2 separate regions of the Homo sapiens genome follow, and region 2 is linked to region 1. The links are contacts of gene promoters, found by promoter capture Hi-C in blood cells and fetal thymus (Javierre and others, 2016). All regions are on one chromosome and are shown on one strand. Each heading gives the region's core, a stretch centred on a gene start or on the middle of the fragment in contact. The rest is flanking DNA. Distances are from core to core; before and after follow the strand shown.

Region 1 (4,975 bases), core at 929-3,428:
TAAAAAGGAAAGCAGACAGATTGCACCAGAGCTTTCTGACCTTGTAATCTATTGTCAAGCAGTAAAATTTCCAGGTAAGATTAGGCAATATCATCTATAACTTTTAAAGATATCAAAGGTTAAAAATATGCCATTTATTTAATTGGGCATTGTGAACACTCTCAAAATAACTAAATTGTGTTGCTGAAATCATTGTTATAATACCTCCTAAATATCTTTATTATTATAATTTGCCTTGATGCTCATGAAGAAAAATACCATAAAGTATTCATTTTTCAGGTCACACAATGTCTTTTTATAATAGTTAATAATTATAAAAGTTATAATACTCATAATTTCTAATTGCTAAATGTATTAAATACTTAAGTACTAGGATTTGTGCTATTTTACGTACATCTCCTTTACCGTTCATAATGATTCTACAAGGTAGGCGGTATTATCTCCATTTTAAAATAAAGTCTGAGAGGGATGAAGTAATTTGCCCCAAGTTTCAGAGTATATCAGTCAAGATTCTTTTGTTTGAAAGTGGCAGAAATTGACCTAAGTAAAGGGAACTTTATTGACTCATGTGCTTAAAAATGAAGACACACAGGTTTCAGGTATAGCTTAACCAAGGTACATGCTTTCTCTTTCCTCATTTCTCATTCCGCCTCCATCATGTTGGCTTTCTCCCCTTTATTCCCTTCTGGTTGCGAGACGGCTACAGCAGGCCAGCACTACATGCTTCCAGTTTCAGCTTCAGTGTAAGAGTCTCTTCCAGAACTTCCCGCAGAAGTGTCATTGTTTCTCATTGGGTCCTTTACCAATCACTGTGGCCAGGAGATGCAGTGCTCTGATGGTCTGGATCCCATGTCACATTCTCCACTCTGAGCTGGGTAGCAAGGCCCCACCCAAACCACAAGGACCAAGGATGGCGTTGAAGTGGAAGGAGAGATTTCCCCCAATTGACCGTTTTTAGAAGTACAGTGGACAGGCTGATGAACCACTTTCCAAAAACAGTGTCCTTTTCAATTAATGAATGGTAGACCTATGGCTCTGAAGCCTGTCTGTCTCCAAAGTCCTGCCCTTACCCGTTATACTGCCTGGCCTCTCTTGTTTCGGGCTGTTTTCAATGAGGTACTCAATTATGTGTCCCACAAATGGGGCACCAGGGGGTAGAAGACAAACAAGAAAGTCCCTAAGTACATGGAACTCAGAAAAATTCATCTCCTCATACTAAGAAAAAGGATTCTCTTGAATATAATTTCTGAGAACAGGAAAGTGGCTGAGATAGGAGGATCAGTCTAAATGTTAGTAAACAGGATTTATAGACTTGGCCTGGAGAGAGGCACTAAAATGCCCTCATCTTTTCAAGATGGGCTGAACTCAGGTCCCTCCCAGAGCATATCTTAAGCACCTGGTCTCACACAGTGCCTGACAAATGGGCCAGAGGCATTGGGCTATTTAAAAATTAGGCAAACTGGGTGTAGTGGTGCGTGCCTGTAATCCCAGCTACCAGGGAGGCTGAGCAGGAGAAATGCTTGAGTCTAGGAGTTCAAGCCCAGCCTGGGCAAGATATATAGCAAGACCTCATCTCTAAAAAATAATAATTAAATTTTTAAAATCACAGTTAGGTAATAGTGAGCTTTTCACACATCAGAGTAAAAAAAATCATATTATTTAATGATATGATAAAAATCATATATTTCATGATATTAAAATCATTTTAATTGTAAGTTTTCTCCTATAAGCTGTTTTTAAACTTTTGGCAGCTGCTACTGCTTGTCTGCTAGCAAATCCTGTTGAGGAGGATATGAATCAATAAGTAGCCAGCAAAGATTTCAGAGAAATGCAGGAACCTGGCCATTTAAGTTTAATTTCACAGACCATGACCTCATGGCATATAAGTACAATATGACCATTATTTGCAACTGGCAAAACTCTTTTTCTGATGGAGTAAAACCCTTTACCTGTCAAAGAGCCTGGAGGCTGGCATGTCCTTCATTGCAGGAACAAGGATGAGCGCCACTCTGTCCAAGAATCACACCCACTGCAGCTCTTATTCTTTATAAATGCAGCGGATGCCACACTCGGACCATTCCACTGGCTTTGTCTTTTCTTCTCAAGCACTCAGTAAATAAGGAGCACAAATTCCCAAAGATATTTGAAGTCTGTGTGAAAGATAAAGTCTCTGTACCAGTAGAGAATCGTGGAAGATCAGGAGGTCATGTGATAGAGCTTCTAAGCATGTGGTTGTTCGGCTTATTTTAAAAATTCCAAGTATGTTGTTTTTTAAAAGTGTTCACATAGCATACATTTCTTCATAGGTATAGTGTATTTTCTCTTTAGAAAAATGAAATTTCTTACATTTTTTCCCTGATTTTATTTCCTGTCTCAAAATAGCTAAATTGGATTGCCAGAATGATTGTTATAATACCTTCTAAATATTTCTTTTTACAATCATTTGTTTGATGCACATGAGGAAAATACTATAAACTGTTCATTTTGCTATGCCGTTTATTTTAATTTTGCTACATTATCAATTTCAGTGTATGTCACCTTTCATCATCCCAAGTCCCTTCTTACAAGCCATATGCAAAAAAAAAAAAAAAACCCTTCATTGCAATGAGGCACTCAACAATCATGTGGTATGAGGCCCACAGAAAGGAAGGAACTTCCCCACCATCAGAAGCTAGGTCAGTGGCAGGGCAAGAGCCAGAATTCCTGTCAGCTCCCAGGGGTGGGCTCTTTGCACCACACTATGGAAGTAGTTGAATTTTTTCGACCTGCTTTCTCTTAGGGTTTATTTCTCGGTTGCATTTAGTACTTCTATTGTCCTGGGTTTTTTTCTCCTTCTAATAGAAAAAAAAAAGGATATGGTATTTTTATTTTATGACCCCATCAACCTAGTTTCCAATATCTTCCCACAAGCTCCCCTGCATCCCCCACTCTCCTCAGGCACCTACATACACTGCCGTCTTTCTAGTGCCAGGCCATTGCTCAGAGTGTTCTCAACCTTGCCTGGCCTTCCTTCTCCCCTTGGCCCCATTCCAAATTCCAAGGACGGGGTCCTTGGAAAGTATCTGAGACTCTTCAACTCATTGTGACATCTCCTTTCTGGAGCTCCTTCATTTATAGGCATATGTTTGGGTACCTCCTAGATACCCAGTTGTTCCACAGTTAGGAGTGCAACCTTGTTCTTTTATTTTGAATTTTTTTATTTTGACAGCTTTAGTGGTACAAGTAGTTTTTGGTTACATGGATGAATTGTATAGTGATGAAGTCTGGGATTTTAGCGCACCTGTCACCCAAGTCGTGTAAGTCATACCCACCAGGTAGTTTTTCATCCCTCACCTCCCTCCCACTCTCATTCTGAGTCTCCAATGTCCATTACGCTGCTCTGTATGCCTTGACATACCCATAGCTTAAAAGATTACAACCCTGTAAGACAAAAATTATTCAGTGGTGACAAGATCATCAGATAAGATCGTGGGTCAGAGACCTGGGCTCTTGGCTACCATGCTTTGTGATTTGGCCAAGGCAAATCTCTCTGAGCCTTTCTCACTCAAAAGTGGAGTTGACTAGAATCCTTGTTTACTACACTTGCTGAAATCTCCAGAATCACCCAGGCCACTTGATTAACATACCCAGTCTCAGGCCTCTCTACCAGGGATTTACATTTGGAAGGCACTGGGAGGTCCTGGTCCCTGGGTTTCTAAGGCAGGCAATTCAGGAGCAGGTAGAGCCAGATGATCTGGAAGTCTGATTCTGAGGGGGATTTTGCCTCATTCTCCTTTGGATCCACCACACAGTCCACAGAGCAGGTGCCCAGGGATTCCATGGTGAGGCTCGTCCGGAAGATTCTGTGACTTCCAGGGCTCATTTTTATTCCTACACTGAAGGAGCCACATGGGGAGAGCCTTGCAAGTGTCAGTCCATTCCCTGGACACACACTGTCATTTTCTCAGCACTGAGAGACAAGCTTTGTTCATCAAACAGTGGTTTGCTAACAAGCCATTTGAATGACAAAAGTAGAACCCTGCTGCCTTGGACAGCTTTGGGCTAGCTGGGTGTAGGTCCCTGGCACTGAGAGTTGCCTCCCCCACAGAGAGCCTTGGCCATCCCCCATGGCTGTTCTGGGTTACTCAGACCCACAGTAGTGCTGCAGGTTGGAACACCTTGGAGGGCAAAGGGATGCATTTCAAGAAATGAGAGGGCTTGGAACAGAACTCTCGGGAGAATGTCAACCAACACACCACTGAGAGGTAGCCCTGTTCACTGAAACTTAATTACCCTCGGTGCCTCCCAATATCTTGCAAAACCAGTGAACACAGCTTTTCGGACCTATAGTGACTGGGTAAGATGAGGCCCTGCAGAGCATGGCAGGCAAGGCACTCAGGAAGGAAAAGTAGCCGTGTGACCCTGAGTGGCTCTCGGACCATCCCCAGACTCAGCTTCTCTCCTGATTTTAGCAGTGCCAATATGTTGAATCCTCTGATGTCTCTGGGAGAGCATCCAGAAGAAAGCCTAGCACTGATTATATTTACAGTAATGCATCACTTAATCAGGGAGAGACATTCTGAGAATGCTTCATTAGATTATTTTGTCATTGTGTGAAACATCATAGAGTGAACTTAGACAAAGCTACAGTGTAGCCTGCTACACACCTAGGCTAGATGGTGTAGCCTGTTGCTCCTAAGCTACCAGCCTGTACGGCATGTTACTGCACTGAATACGGTAGGTAAGTGTAACACAATGATAAGTATTTGTGCGTTTAAACATACCTAAACAGACAAGGTACAGTAAAATTATGACATAAAAGATTTAAAATGGTACATCTGTATAGGGCACTTATCATGAATGAAGCTTGCAAGACTGGAAGTTGCTCTAGGTGGATCAGTGAGTGAGTGATGAGTGAATGTGAAGACCTGGGACATTACTGTACATGACTATCGACTTTATAAACACTGTACACTAAGGCTACACTACATTTATA
Region 2 (4,975 bases), core at 1,174-3,673, 470 kb before region 1:
GAGTTCGAGAGGAAGGTAGACTCAGAGCTCCCTAGAATCTCAGACACTGTCCTCATCTTGGGTGGAAGCAGCGCCCGGCTGCCTCCTGGTGGCAGCTGGTTCCAATTAGCAGGGAGTAATTAGGAGGAGGTTTCACTCGCTGACGCTGAAATGGCAAAATCCAAGCCACAGGCATAGACGGATGGCCAGATTTAGCACATAAAAATACAGGGTGCTCTGTTAAATTTGAATGTCAGACAAACATGAACAATATTTTAGTTTGCGCTTGCTTCATGACAACCTTAGTAAGGCAGTACATACTGATTCAATTTCTTCCTCTTGGTCTCTCGCCTCTGCATTTTTAAAAAAGAAAGGAGATGACATTCAACCAAGGTAGATAGTAAATAAATAAATAAGTAAGTAAATAAATGAAAGGGAAGGAAGGAGAAAAGAAGAGAGGCAGGTAGGGAGAGAAGGAGGAAGGCTCTTGGCCCCAAATTATCATTTCCTCTAATTCTCCATTTACAAAACTCCATTCCTTCTTGCCCCCTCACCACCCGCCTCTTTTCACCATCCTAGGGACACTTTGTAACTATTCCCTACAATATGTCTTCAAAACATTAAATCAGAACCAAGCCACACCAATGAAAGCAAACCTCAACTCTCTGGTTCCAAAAACCACCGGGGTCTCTTCCTGGACACTAAAGATATATTCTGACCCCCTCCTCCTGCCTCCCGTGAGCCTCCACCTCGGCAGCATGACTTGCTGCTGCTAGATCTGTACCTGCCAGCTCACCTCACCTCTTAACCCCCTGCTTGCATTTTCTTCAGGTTCTTGTCTTTGATGCACAGTTCTTAAAGTATCTCCTAATTAAGTGCTCGGAAACAGGTGCCAATAAATCTAGTTACAGTAATATTTCAAAGAGGTGTTTTACAAAATAAATCGATGTTTATGGTTCAGTATGTGGTGTATGGTAATGGTGTTCTTTAATGGATTTTCCTCACACAGCCCATCTCAGCTCCAGCTGAGGCTGGATGCTCCCAGCCCCCAGCCCCTAGCCCCAGTTCCCCGTCCTAACTGAACACTACTACAGAAAAGTCCAGAAAGAAGACAGCAGTTCACTTATCATCTTGAAACTTCAATCAGATCATGCCATTCTGCTTAAAACCCTCCATTGCTCTCCTATAACATTTAGAATAAGATACAGAATGTCCACAATGGCCTCTAAAGTCTGTGGGGTTTTCCTCTACCCACAGCATCCCACCCTATTCCCTGCTCACTGCTATCTAGCCCCATGAAAACCCTTTCTGTTCATGGAAGATGCGAAACCTTTTTCTGCCTCAGACTCTTGTACTTGTTTTCCCTTCTGCCTGGAATGCTTCCCCATGCCCAGTTCTTTGGATGGAGAGGTCATTCTAATGCTTCAGGACCCAGTTCTAAGGTGTTAAGAATATTCTATATCCTGGAATTTGTGCACCTTATTGTATGGATGTCACATCTCGGTAAAAGGTAAAATGTAATGTATTACTAATTCACTACTAGATCACCCTTTTGATTTCCTTCCTGACAATGATCACAAACCATAATTATCATATTAACTTGTTTACTTGTTTACTGTCTGTCTTCCACTTAGATCAGGAGGTGGCAAACTATGCCACCATCCAAGTCTAGCCACCACTTATTTTTATAAACAAAGTTTCATTGGTACCTAGCCACACCCATCCATTTACTGTTGTCTGTGGCTGCTTTTACTAAGCTACAGTGGCAGAACTGAGTAATTGTAACACAGATTGTATAGCTTCACAAAACCTAAGATGCTTACTGTCTAGCCCTTTCCAAAAAAAAAAAAACAGCTTGAAACCCCTGCCATGGACTGTAAGTTTCATGAAGGCAAGAACTGTGTCAGTCTTCTCCACCTGTATTTCAGGATCCAAAACAGTGCCTGGCACAAACTCAGCAACCCCTCAATAAGTGTTGGCTCCTGTCCGGCCCCTACCACTGGCTCCCCTGGCGCAGTCTCCTAGCTTGCCCTTTCCCTCATCTGATCCTGGCGCCTGGCCATTTGCCTGCAGAGTGTAGGTTCTTGCCATCTGCCAGTCCCTTGTAGCCCTGCCTCCTTGCTCGATGTCACCAAACTGGTGCTTCTTGTGCCCTGATGCTGAAAACCCATCTAATCACAACCAATAATCTTCTAACACAAAAGCTTCCTCTGCTGTTTGTGTGTTTTAGAAGCAATCGTTTTGTAGTATGCCAATCCATTCTCTATAATCATGAAAGATGCCTGTCTTAAAATGTCCTTCTATCATTCAGCTTTTTGTTAATATATTTATTTAGGTATCTTCCTATTATAAAAGCGATTCATATACATAACACACAATTTTGAAAATAAAGAAAAACTAAGAGACAACCGTTTTTAGCACTGATGTGGTTTCTTTTTATTAGTCTTTCTATGCTATTTTTTAATGCATGCTTGTATAAAACAACAAAAAATGGCTACAAATTTTCTCCCTTGTATTATAATAAGCATTTTTATATCATATATTCTTTGTAAAGTATTATTTTAGTAGCTGCATAATATTATATTAAATGGAAATATTAATATTTATTTATTGTTGGGAAATATTTATAATATATTCAGATCTTTACCATAGAAAGTAATACAGCCATGAACATCTTTGTGTATGAAGCTTTTTTCCCCCATTTTTTGGATTACTTCCTCTAGGAAGAGTTCCAGAAACAGAATTACTGGATCAAGAACCATTGTTTTGAGTTCAGATAAATACTGGCATCCTCACTTTTAAAAGGCCTGAAAACTTCTTAATAAAGATATCAGAGCAAATGCATTCATAATCCTCTTTCCTGTGCTCCAAGTCCATAGGAATGACAGGTTAGATATTAAATACATATTTCTATGCTTCTCTAAAAATGCAAGAGGAAAATGTCACTGGCTCAAAAAAGGAGTAAAACTTAAACAATAAGCAAAGTATAAAACCACAGGGACAAACAGTGAGACTGGAACTAGGCAAACAAGACTGGAGTCCAGAGGAAGGACTGAATGTAGCCCTTGGTAGTGGGGAGCTACCCAAGAACAGTGGATGACAGAACTTCATCCGTACATCTAGAACAGTGGCAGAAATACACCACTTGCTCAGGGTCAGTGTCCAAAGCAGAGTCCTATATTAGTCCATTCTCACACTGCTAGAAAGAACTATTTGAGACTTGGTTATTTATGAAGAAAAGGAGTTTAATTGACTCACGGTTCAACAGGCTCTACAGTTTCACATGGCCAGGGGGCCTCAGGAAACTTACAATCATGGCAGAAGGTGAAGGAGAAGCATATCTTAGCAAGGCAGAGTAGAAGGAGAGACAGAATGAGGGGGAAAGTGCCACACACTTTTAAACCATCGGATCTCATGAGAACTCATTCGTTATCACAAGAACAGCAAGGGGGAAATCCACCTCCGTGATCCAATCACCTCCCACCAGTCTCCTCCCCTGACATGTGAGGATTGCAATTTGACATAAGATTTGGGTGAGACATGGAGCCAAACCATATCAGTGCTATTCCTGGTGCTGGAGAGGAAACACTTTACCTTCACAGAGTCAGTGCCTGGGGGCCTACGAATCTAAACCATCAAAAGATAGATTGACAAGAGAAAAGAAGAGTTGATTTAAGCATGCAATGTGCATACACACAGGAGTGCTCAGTGATGCACTCAGTGATTGTGCTCACTGTTAGAATTCAGGGCTTATGTACCTAACATAGTAGGGGAAGGAAAAAGGAGAAAAGGCTCCTATGAGAAGAACAAATAGGTTTCCTTAGGAAAGACAATTGGATTTTTATGAGAATAAATGGGAGATAAGAAAGTTTGTGACATTTTATTTACATAGGTGCTAGTGGCCTTTCTCTCTTCTTCACAGCTAGGACTCTCCCTAGGAGAAGGGATTTATGGTAGTCTCATTTCCCAAAGTTGCTGTGTTTCATCAGATTAGGAAAGCTCCAAGAAAGTCTTTTTCTGCATCTGTTGAGTCTCAAATGTCTTCAGCTTAAAATAATCTTTACAACAACTCTGTAATCGCCTGATGAGTTCGTCCCATCCTCTGCACAGACAAAACCAATTCACCGAGACCATGGTATTGCAGTAGTTTAATTGATGTGAGGCTGGCCACAGGGGAAATAGAGTTAGTACTCAAATCAGTCTCCCCAAAGGCTCACGGGTTAGGGTTTTTCAAGGATAGTTTGGTGGGCAGGGGATAGAGAATGGGTGCTGCTGATTGGTTGGCAATGCAATCATAGGGGTGTGGAAAATGGTCACCATCTGTGCACTGAGTCCACCTCTTGGTGGGAGAGGAGGGCACAGAAATAGTTGAGTTATGAGTCATGAGTCTGGGTGGCATCAGTCTGAAAAACATCTCAAAAGACCAATCTTAAGTTCTACAATAGTGATATTATCTATATGAGCAATTAGGGAAGTCATAAATCTTGTGACCTCTGGCCACACGATTCCTGAGAAGTAAGGGATCATAAAAACTATACCGACATTTTAGCAGAATTCAGGGCCCTCCCATAATCCTAATCTTATGGCCTTTCATTAGTCTTATGAAAGTAGTTTCAGCCCGCCCCCTGGCCCCAACAAGGAGAGGATTCGTTTCAGGGAGAAACTATTATCATCCTTGCTTCCAAGTTAAACTATAAATTTTAATTTGGTTAAAAGTAAGAATATGTTAGCTTGTCCTATGCCCAGGAATGAGTGAAGACAGCCAACCGGTGAGGCTAGAAGCAAGATGGAGTCAGCCATATCAGATTTCTCTTACTGTCATAATCTTTGCAAAGGTGGTTTCAACTCAGGGATTCTGAGTGAGTCTTTACACCAGTCTGTACCATGTGCATTGTGGAGAATTTTCACCCCAGAAATGAGCAGCTGTGAGTTGAGCTGCAAACATATGGCATAGGTTTAGTCTAGTCAACCTATGAGATCAAGACTAAGGGAGCCA

What was found. Contacts are between HindIII fragments. The CHiCAGO score rates a contact against its expected background, and 5 or more counts as called.
Region 2: a fragment that was not itself captured here is called in contact with the fragment with the promoter of PLCE1-AS1 in region 1 in 1 of 17 cell types (megakaryocytes); the score reaches 5.8 in megakaryocytes.

The regions. Positions count from the first base shown.
Region 1 is chr10:94,284,892-94,289,866 of GRCh38, forward strand. It overlaps PLCE1-AS1 (PLCE1 antisense RNA 1), which reads right to left and starts at 2,179. Exons shown (of 4, transcript NR_033969.1): 1 at 1,950-2,179. It overlaps PLCE1 (phospholipase C epsilon 1), which reads left to right. Exons shown (of 33, transcript NM_016341.4): 22 at 1-74. The HindIII fragment of the contact is 4,167 bases long and covers 1-3,959 here.
Region 2 is chr10:93,816,261-93,821,235 of GRCh38, forward strand. No RefSeq gene overlaps it. Among named protein-coding and RNA genes, the nearest start is that of LGI1, 61 kb to the left of the region's middle. The HindIII fragment of the contact is 484 bases long and covers 2,182-2,665 here.